2 separate regions of the Homo sapiens genome follow, and region 2 is linked to region 1. The links are contacts of gene promoters, found by promoter capture Hi-C in blood cells and fetal thymus (Javierre and others, 2016). All regions are on one chromosome and are shown on one strand. The core of a region is centred on a gene start or on the middle of the fragment in contact, and the rest is flanking DNA. Distances in the headings are between cores, read along the strand shown. Region 1 holds the start of MACROD1 (mono-ADP ribosylhydrolase 1). Region 2 overlaps MARK2 (microtubule affinity regulating kinase 2).

The links. The method cuts DNA at HindIII sites, captures the fragments that hold promoters and counts their contacts. A CHiCAGO score of 5 or more calls a contact.
Region 2: a contact is called between a fragment that was not itself captured here and the fragment with the promoter of MACROD1 in region 1, in 1 of 17 cell types (naive B cells). The highest score is 5.5, in naive B cells.

Annotation. Positions count from the first base shown.
Region 1 is chr11:64,164,526-64,168,994 of GRCh38, reverse strand. MACROD1 (mono-ADP ribosylhydrolase 1) reads left to right here and starts at 2,882. Exons shown (of 11, transcript NM_014067.4): 1 at 2,882-3,298. The coding sequence starts at 3,001. LOC105369339 (a long non-coding RNA gene) reads right to left here and starts at 2,757. Exons shown (of 3, transcript XR_950187.3): 1 at 2,406-2,757. RefSeq lists silencers at 2,496-2,755, 3,016-3,095, 3,226-3,325 and an enhancer at 2,863-3,363. The HindIII fragment of the contact is 18,296 bases long and covers 1-4,469 here.
Region 2 is chr11:63,841,188-63,845,764 of GRCh38, reverse strand. All of the region lies in intron 1 of MARK2 (microtubule affinity regulating kinase 2), which reads right to left. Among named protein-coding and RNA genes, the nearest start is that of MARK2, 4.4 kb to the right of the region's middle. The HindIII fragment of the contact is 539 bases long and covers 2,561-3,099 here.

The sequences.
Region 1 (4,469 bases), core at 1,633-4,132:
GGTGTTCTACCCGCCTTGGCCTTCTAAAGTGCTGGGATTACACGCGTGAGCCACTGCACCCGGCCTGAACGCCAAGACTTTCTTATGGCTGGGGACCCTGCCTCTACCTCATCATCCTCACTAGACATTGCCAGGAAGGTTGCACAGGGCAGAATAATGGCCCTCCAAAGACTCCACATCCTAAATCCTAGAGCCTGTAAATATGTTACATTACACGGCAAAGGGGAATGAAGGCTGCAAATCAGCTAAGTAGAGAAATTGTCACAGATTATCTAGGTGGGCTCCATGTAATCACAAGTGTCCCTGAAGATGGAAGAGAGAGGCAGAAGGAGAGTATCAGAGGGAAATGCCACTACAGGAGAATGCTCAGATGCAACCGCGCTGGCTTTGAACATGGAGGAACAGGTCTCAAGCCAAGGAATGTGAGTGGTCTCTGGGAATCAGAAAAGGCAATGATACAGGCTGTCTGCTAGGGCTTCCAGAAAGGAACATGGCCTCGTGTTCCCCTTGATTTTAACCCAGTGATGCCCACATCAGACTTCTGTCCTACAGAACTTTAAGATACTAAATGTGTCGTTGAAGCCAGTGAATTTGCGGTAATGGTACAGCAGCAATGGAGAAGTAATATACTGCATCACCCACATGCCTCATTTCACCAATCAGTGACACCTGCATAACCATTTTCCAGACTGCAGATGGGAACCAAACAGACCTGGACCCAAGTCGGGGCTGGGATCCTGACCTGACCTTGGGCCAATCATCTCTCTGCCTGGAGGGGGTGAGAGCTGAGGATATAACGGGCTAATGGAGGTAGTGGGAATGGACATAGAGGGCTTAGCTCAGTACAGCTGGGACTTCGTGCATGTAGGTGTTGGCTGTCCTGGTTGCAGTCAGCAAGGTCCTTCCTTTACTCTGAGTTACTGGAGGGGCCACAACTGGTGAGGTGACCTGGAGCCTGACCCCTACATCCTGAACCGTGCCTTGCTGATGTTTTCAGGAGAGGGTGCAGGCCTTGCTGGTGGTCCTGGAATGCTGGGGGCCGTGGGCTCTTCCTTCCTGGCCTCTGGCTCCCCTTTGCCCTCACTCCCAGTACTGATGACTGCCTACCCTGCTGCTGGCAAGTCTATGCTGATCCTCTCTTGGGCAGATTTAATGTCTGGAGTCCAAGGGTGAGCCCGTGTCACCATCCCAGTGGTTCCATCTGCATCCATGGCAGGTCAGGGATCCTCGTACGGCCATCCATGGTTATTGCCACACTCAGAGTCAGAGGCCTGGAGCACAGGAGCAGGTTTGCAACCAGCCAGACTCTCTTATTCCTAGCTGACAGCTCAAGAAGTTTGAGTCTTAAGGGGCTAGGGTACCCTAGGGCAGCAACACTAGTACTAGAACCTTCTCTGAAACCCTGGCTCGTTCCTCCCTCGTATTAAAATATATTCATTATTATTATTACTTTTGAGATAGGGTCTCACTGTGTCGTCCAGGCTGTAGTGCAGTGGTGCCATCATGGCTCTCTGTAGCCTTGAACCCTTGGGCTCAAGTGTTTGCCTGCCTCAGCCTCTGGAGTAGCTGGGACTAGAGGTGAGTGTCTACCACCATACCAGGGTAATTTTTTTGTGTGGGGGCGGGTAGAGATGAGGGGGTCTCACTATATTGCCCAGGCTGGTCTTGAACTCCTGGCCTCTAATAATCCTCTTGCCTCAGCCTCCCAAAGTGCTGGGATTACAGGTGTGAGCACTTATTCATTATTCATTATTACATTCATTATATTATTATAATGGCCCGGCCTGTATTCATTATATTTATCATAAAGTAATATTAATAGTACATAAAAATATATAAAAGTACTTAAAAATCCATCCTCGTGTTTTTTGTTTTGTTTTCTTTGAGACAGAGTCTCGTTCTGTCACCCAGGCTGGAGTGCAATGGCACGATCTCGGCTCACCGCAACCTCCGCCTTCCGGGTTCAAGTGATTCTCCTGCCTCAGCCTCCCGAGTAGCTGTAATTAACAGGCATGCACCACCACGCCTGCATAATTTTTGTATTTTTAGTAGAGACGGGGTTTCGCCATGTTGGCCAGGCAGGCCTCGAACTCCTGACCTCGTGATCCACCCAACTCGGCCTACCAAAGTGCTGGGATTACAGGCGTGAGCCACCGCGCCCGGCCGGTTTTTGTTTAAAAAAGAAAAGAAAAAAAAAAAAAAACACACAGACACACACAAAAACATCACCCCAATCCTTCCACCCTTGAACGCCACTTGAAGCCTAAGTTTCCTGCCTCCAAATTCCACTATTTCCACCCTCGACTCTCCTCCCCAGCTGTCCTAGATTCTGCTCCAGCTGAGCCTTGGCCCCGGGGCTGTTAGAAGGCAGAGGCTCTGGGGAGAAGTCCCCAAACCGGATTTACCCGTTCGTCGCACCTGTCCCTAGGAGGGCAGGCTGGGGTGTGGAGGCGGTGCCCTGCTGACCCGCGGGGAGAGAAGCCCGGGTCTCCCAGGCTGCAAAACGCTCGGCACTGCGGAAGCCGCGCCAGGCTCTCCCAGCTCGATACGCAGCGGCCGGCGCGCCTGCTCCGCCGCGGGGCCGAGCGGCAGAGGGGCCCGGGGCTGCGTGGAAGGCCCGGGGGCTTCAGCCCGTGCCGGGGAAGCCGACGCTCAGCCAACCAGAAAGTTAGAGGCGGCCGAGGTCTCGCGGAGGGGAGGCGCCTGGCGGCCACGGGAGAAGTCGAAGGGCTCAGGCGGGGCTCCATCCGCGACACTGGGAGCCCGGGCGGGCGCGCACGTGTGTATACGAGTGCGTGGGCCCATCCGGCGGCCCGGACTACAAGTTCCAGGGTGCCCAGCGGCGCTCCCGGGTTTTCTGGCCGCGCCTCCCGCTGGCTCCGAGCAGGTCGCCGCTGGCTGGCAGTCGCCACCCGGTCCCAGAGTAAATAAGGGAGAGACACTCCCGAGCGCCGTAAATAGAGTCCAAGTGGGCGGAGAGCCGTCCCGCGCCGCCCGCTCATGTCTCTACAGAGCCGACTGTCCGGCCGCCTGGCACAGCTGCGCGCGGCGGGGCAGCTGCTCGTCCCCCCGCGCCCCCGGCCCGGACACTTGGCGGGTGCCACGAGGACCCGCAGCAGCACGTGCGGTCCCCCGGCGTTCCTGGGCGTGTTCGGCCGCCGTGCGCGGACCTCGGCGGGAGTTGGGGCGTGGGGGGCGGCGGCGGTGGGGCGGACAGCCGGGGTGCGCACTTGGGCCCCCCTGGCCATGGCGGCGAAGGTGGACCTGAGCACCTCCACCGACTGGAAGGAGGCGAAATGTAAGTGTAAGCACGAGGGGGCGCGAGGGAGAGGGCGGCCTCACGTGGAGCTTCCCGGCTGGGCGGCCCCCAACGAGCGAGCAGCCCCTTCCACCCGAGAGACCTGGGGAAGTTGAGGCCCCATCTGCCCTGGAACGGACCCCTCCTCCCCATTGACAGCCCCCCCCGCCCCCGCGCGTGTTCCCAGCCCCACAGAACAATTCACTCCAGACCAGGTCCAAGTGTCCACGCAGGGGGCAGCGTGAGGAAGGCGGCCTTCCTTACCCCATTGGAATGGGTCACAGGGCACCCCAGAGATTGTGCAGGACCTACCAACTTCCTTCCCTGTGCAGGAGGGAAACTGAGGCCGAGTGCCACAGCTGGCTTCCCCAAGGTCACTCGGAGCTGGTGGCAAAGTGGAGGTTATGATCCCGGACTCTCCAAACTTTGCACAGTGTGGTTCTTAAGTGTTCGGGAATGGGGCTGAGGGAACAGCTCCGGGGCTGGCGTCCCACCTGGTGGGGCACGTAACCTCACAGAGTGACCTTCCTGGGCTGGCCTGTCCTGCCTCCACCCCACCCCAAGCCCGCACTCTGATGCCTTCCTGGGCACGTGGTCTGGCGCCCTTTTCCCCTTCTCGCTGGCCTCTGGCCACTTGTGAGCAGTTTGCTCATGCCAGGAACAGAGGTTAGAGGAGCAGGGCAGAGGTGGGGTCTTGTCCCTGTGACAACTGATGACACCCTTCAAGAATCACACCACTTCCTCTTGCTCCTGGAGGGGGCATGAGTCTGGGGCCTGGGGAGAGAGAGAACCCAAGCTGCCGCTACTGAGCCCCAAATAGCCCTGCCGGGCACCCAGCTGCCCCTGCCTTTCAGGGCCTGCCTCCTGGGATCCTGTGACTCTTCCCGGCTGGATCCCCTTTCAAAAGTGCAGGGAAGTGGCTAATTGGCTGGGCCTCCGTGGTGGAGTAGGTGTGGCCTCTGGGCTGGGCAGGCAGGATGGGGGGGTCCTGCGGTGTTAGGGGTGAAGAGAAGATGGCTTTCTCGGGACCAGAGGTGGAAATCAAAATGATTTACTCCTGACATGAATTGTGTGGCCTGCGCCAGGATCTAAAAGTGACGGCAGAAAGCACCGACTTTAGCCCGTGAGCAGATGGAGAACTTGTCAGGCACTTGGCCCTTGCCCCAGAACA
Region 2 (4,577 bases), core at 1,581-4,080, 320 kb after region 1:
GGTGACCAGAGCAAGACTGTCTCAAAAAAAAAGACGAGCAATGACCTTCAATGGCCTATAACAAAAAGGAAGGGGGCGGGTGGCAGTAACATTCTGCTCAGGAGTTAGCACTTTCAGGGTTAACCTGGGGATAGCCTGGCTCTCCAGCAGTGGGAAGAGGGTGACTTCCTCCCCCACAGGTTTGTAAAGGCTTACTCTTCCCTTTGCAGAGACAGAAGGGAGAAAATGCATAGACAACACTTCAGTGACTCACTCATGTTTGATGAAAGCTGGGAGGAGGCCTGGAGAATCCAAGCTACAAGCACAAAACGTACAAATACTGGAATCTCCCATCAAGAGAAGGAAATTTAGCCACCTATCTGGTTTGTCATTTTGCTGAACTTCCACTGAAGGAGGAAGGGCCAGCTTTAAACTCCACCCACCCTTTCCACATCCTTCTCAATTTTTGCTTTGATGGGAAAGTGGGGAAACTGGCGGCCCCACCATGGCTAAAAGAGAATCAAATCCTTTCTATACTTCCTCTCAAAGCAGAGGCCTAGTAGCTCCAGTCCACAGCTTAACCAAGCAGAGGGAATAGGGGCTTGTCCTGGTTACTGTAGGAAAGCCTCATCAGGCAGTCTCAGGGAAGGAAGATGACCACCCTCCTCACCCTTTCCATCTGCTGAGGTTACTTCATTCCAATCCATTAATGGGCTTCAAAGTGCTGCTGGGGGGAGTCCATTTAGCAGAGAAGCTATCACGGGGCCAAAGGTGGCGCCCACCCCCTACCCCATTTGTCGATAATGGGCCACAAAGTCTGAGGCTTGGCTGCACTCTAGACATAAAATATTCATTCAAGTCGACATAATACATAAGTAGGAACCTCATGGAAGCTCCTGGGAGAAGAGAAATGCCAGCCAGGTGGCTAAGTGCTCAATGGGAAAGAGTTCATGAAGGCCTGGGTTAGTCCTGATCAAATGCCCACTGAGAATTGGGTTGTTCTGTCCAAAGGGGAAACAATCTAGTCTGAGAAGTTCTGACTCCCAAAAGCTCGAACCCTGCAAACCTCTTAGGCAAGCAAAGTCTCAATCTTTTCCTACCTCATAGGCACCAACTCTGCTTAGGACATTTATGCTGAGAAAAATCTCCAGCCCAAACTTTGGTTGGTCTGAAAGATTAAGTTATCCTTGTGCAAACTTTATTTTAATCTGCAGCAGGCCGAGTTTCAACAACTGTCTTATATCCATCTGTTTAGCTACTTTCCGAAGTCCATAAATTGGAGAAAAGTAATTTTTTTTTTCTGAGATAGTGTCTTGCTCTGTCACCCAGGCTGAAGTGCAGTGGCACAAACACAGCTCAATGCAGTCTCGACCTCCCCAGCTCAAGCCATCCTCCTGCCTCAGCCTTCTGTGTAGCTGCAACCACAGGCATGTGCCACCATGCCCAGCTAAATTTAAAAAAATTTTTTTGTAGAGATGGAGTCTCACTTTATTGATCAGGCTGGTCTTGAACTCCTGGCCTCAAGCAATCCTCCTGCCTTGGCTTCCCAAAGTGCTAGGACTACAGGCATGAGCCATGGTGCCTGACCAGAGAGAAATTATTCTAATTTACTAGGTACAGTTACTTTTCAGATTCAAAGGTTACGAACTCCAAGGACTCCCAAAGCCCTTGCTCTAACAACACTTCCTTCCTGATCTCTAGGGCCAAGCCGAAAGTGACACTATTTGGTCTGACATTCACCCACATTCCTGACCAGAAGGCAGCACCACCAAGGACCCCCTGGCCAGAATCAAAGGACAGAGTGAGAATTAGCACCAGGGCACACTGCTGCACAGCTCAGAGTGTGGACTGAGATGCTAGCTAGCCGATCCAATCTACCTAAGTTACACCAAAAGCAAAAAAAAAATATTTATCCAGCAGATCACCTGAGGTCAGGAGATCGAGACCAGCTTGGCCAATATGGCAAAACCCCGTCTCTACTAAAAATACAAAAATTAGCCAGCATGGTGGTGGGCGCCTGTAGTCCCAGCTACTCCCAGGAGGCTGAGGCAGGAGAATCGCTTGACCCGGGAGGCGGAGGTTGCAGTGAGCCGAGATCGCATCGCTACACTCCAGCCTGGGCGACAGAGCAAGACTCTGTGTCAAAAAAAAAAAGAGTTTTATATATATATATATTTTTATCCAGAATCAACAATGGGGGTCCAGTGAGAGTGTTTGGAGTAGTTCAGCTGTTCCTTATAGGATCTTGTAACTTTGTTTTCTTCACCAGTACTTCTAAACTCCCCTTCCTAGAACTGAGAGAATAAACAATGCCGCTCACTGCCTAGAAGCCTGACAGCAGCCCCCTCCCTTCCCACTGCAGCAGAAGTGGGGCAAGTTTTCTCTCAATCCCTCTCTCATAGTTTCTGAGGCCCAGAGGTGGGGCAGGTCCCAGATGGAGTAGCCTCTCCCCCAGGTGTTATGGAAAACTCTAGCAGGTGAACTCTGGAAGCTGGACCTTTCTCCAGGCTTGCCTGTGACTGCTGCTGCTGGCTGGAAGACAAACAGTCATCTTGCTGATTGCTTTCACAACTGCCAAGCTTCAGGCCAGCAGAGTCATTTGGAAAAGAAGTGAACAAAAAGCTCAGCTCACAAACTAAGAATCCCCCAAGCTACGAGCCCCAGATTAGAACCCTCCTTCTGCAAAAGCAGGAAGTCTATGGCTGTGAAAAAGCACATCTGGAATCAGGTGTCACAAAAACCATCTTAAAGACAGGGCTTAACTTTTTTTTTTTTTTAATCTCCTACTTTCACTGTTATAAGCGAAGTGGACAGCACACAGGCAATCTCCCTGTAACGCAAGGTTTATTTTTATGCTTCAACATTTTCAGTGTCTGTGTGTTTCAGAGTGATTAAAGGGCTCCTGGAAACAGGTTCTCATCAGCCACATTTTTAAAGAAGAGGGAGAGGAAGAGCAAGAAAAGAGACTGGAGACAACCAGTGGTGTTTGTTTACCTATTTTCTGGTAAAACCAGTTTTAAATTTAAATAAGGTGACAGAGGACCTTTAGGGGAGGAAATCAGCCCAACTAAATCCCCTTTTTAAAAAAAATAACATTAAGACTATAGTAATGACCAAGCTTCCATGACTACTTTATCTAAAATCACAACAGGACCAAGAAGAGGTTTCTTTCACTTGGTGGCATGATCTATTCTCGGAGGCCAGTGTTTGATATACCTGGCCTTGTGACCTGAGGAGCTGCTGCTTGTCTTTTTTCCCGTTTTAAAGAATACAGGAATCAGGCCCGGCGCAGTGGCTCACACCTGTAATCCCAGCACTTTGGGAGGCCGGATCACGAGGACAGGAGACTGAGACCATCCTGGACAACATGGTGAAACGCTGTCTCTACTAAAATCCAAAAAATTAGCCGGGCGTGGCGGTGTGTGCCTGTAGTCCCAGCTACTCAGGAGGCTGAGGCAGGGGAATCGCTTGAACCCAGGAGGCGGAGATTGCAGTGAGCCAAGATTGTGCCACTGCACTCCAGCCTGGCGACAGAACGAGACTCTATCTCAAAAAAAAAAAAAAAAAAGAATACAGGAATCTGTCTGGAATAGGTGCATCCAAGGTTTTCCAAAGTCCCTGCTTTTACTGGAATGAGACTTAATATTAAATCGATACAGTGACTGGCTACCCTGAGAACAACAGTAGAAGGTATGAAGGGGCTAAGGAGAATCTAAGTCCATAAAGAGTAGAAATAGGATGGGTAATTAATAATCCTAACAGGATGACAATGTATGCAGCTACTGCTCTGGGCAAAGTTATCAAAGAGCAAAGAGCTTACTTACATTCCCAAATGGTCACTGATTGCTGCTATCATGGAATCAGTGGATGCACACTACGGTGGAATTCCTACTATATGCTCAGCAGTATGCTAGGCATGTAAGGAAGAAAGGAAATCAACACACACATCACAGGAAAAATACCATGGCAATAATACATTTACATGTAGTAAGCAGCACAAAGAAACCACACTGAGGCAGTCTGTTACTCTGCTCTGCTGAACACAATGCCCCCCACCAGCCTCACTGAGAGTAGGCACTCCATCGCCACTCCCCAAATGCCTGAGGGTGCCAGTCAGTCACTTGGCCTCCTCCTACCAGCTCACGATCAACAGTCTGGGAAAGTTCTCTGGTTAAGCAGGGTTTACCTGCTAAAACAAAGGTTGTGAGAGGAAAATGGGTGGAATAAGCAACCTCAAGAGGGCCCAGAGAAAGCAATTCCCAGTAAGGAGAGAGAAACAGCCGGTAGGCAAGGGAGAGAAAGACTGCGAGACACAGAACATGCTCCTCTGTCTCCAAAGACCCCTGTCCCATGCAGAACCAGCTGCCAAACCCAGTGATGAAATGGAAATCAACCATCCCTCCCTCTCAACCCCTATTTCACCCCCAGAAGCAAATAATCCACAAGTAATAAAAGGGTCAACCCTGCAGAGAAAAACTCTGCCTAGAACTTCTCTTTAGTTCCTAACTGCCCAGGTGACAGAGGGCCAGGGGGTAACAAAATAGAAAAACACAGTAAAAGAAAGGAGGTAAGATTTTTCAAAGAAGAATGTTCACATG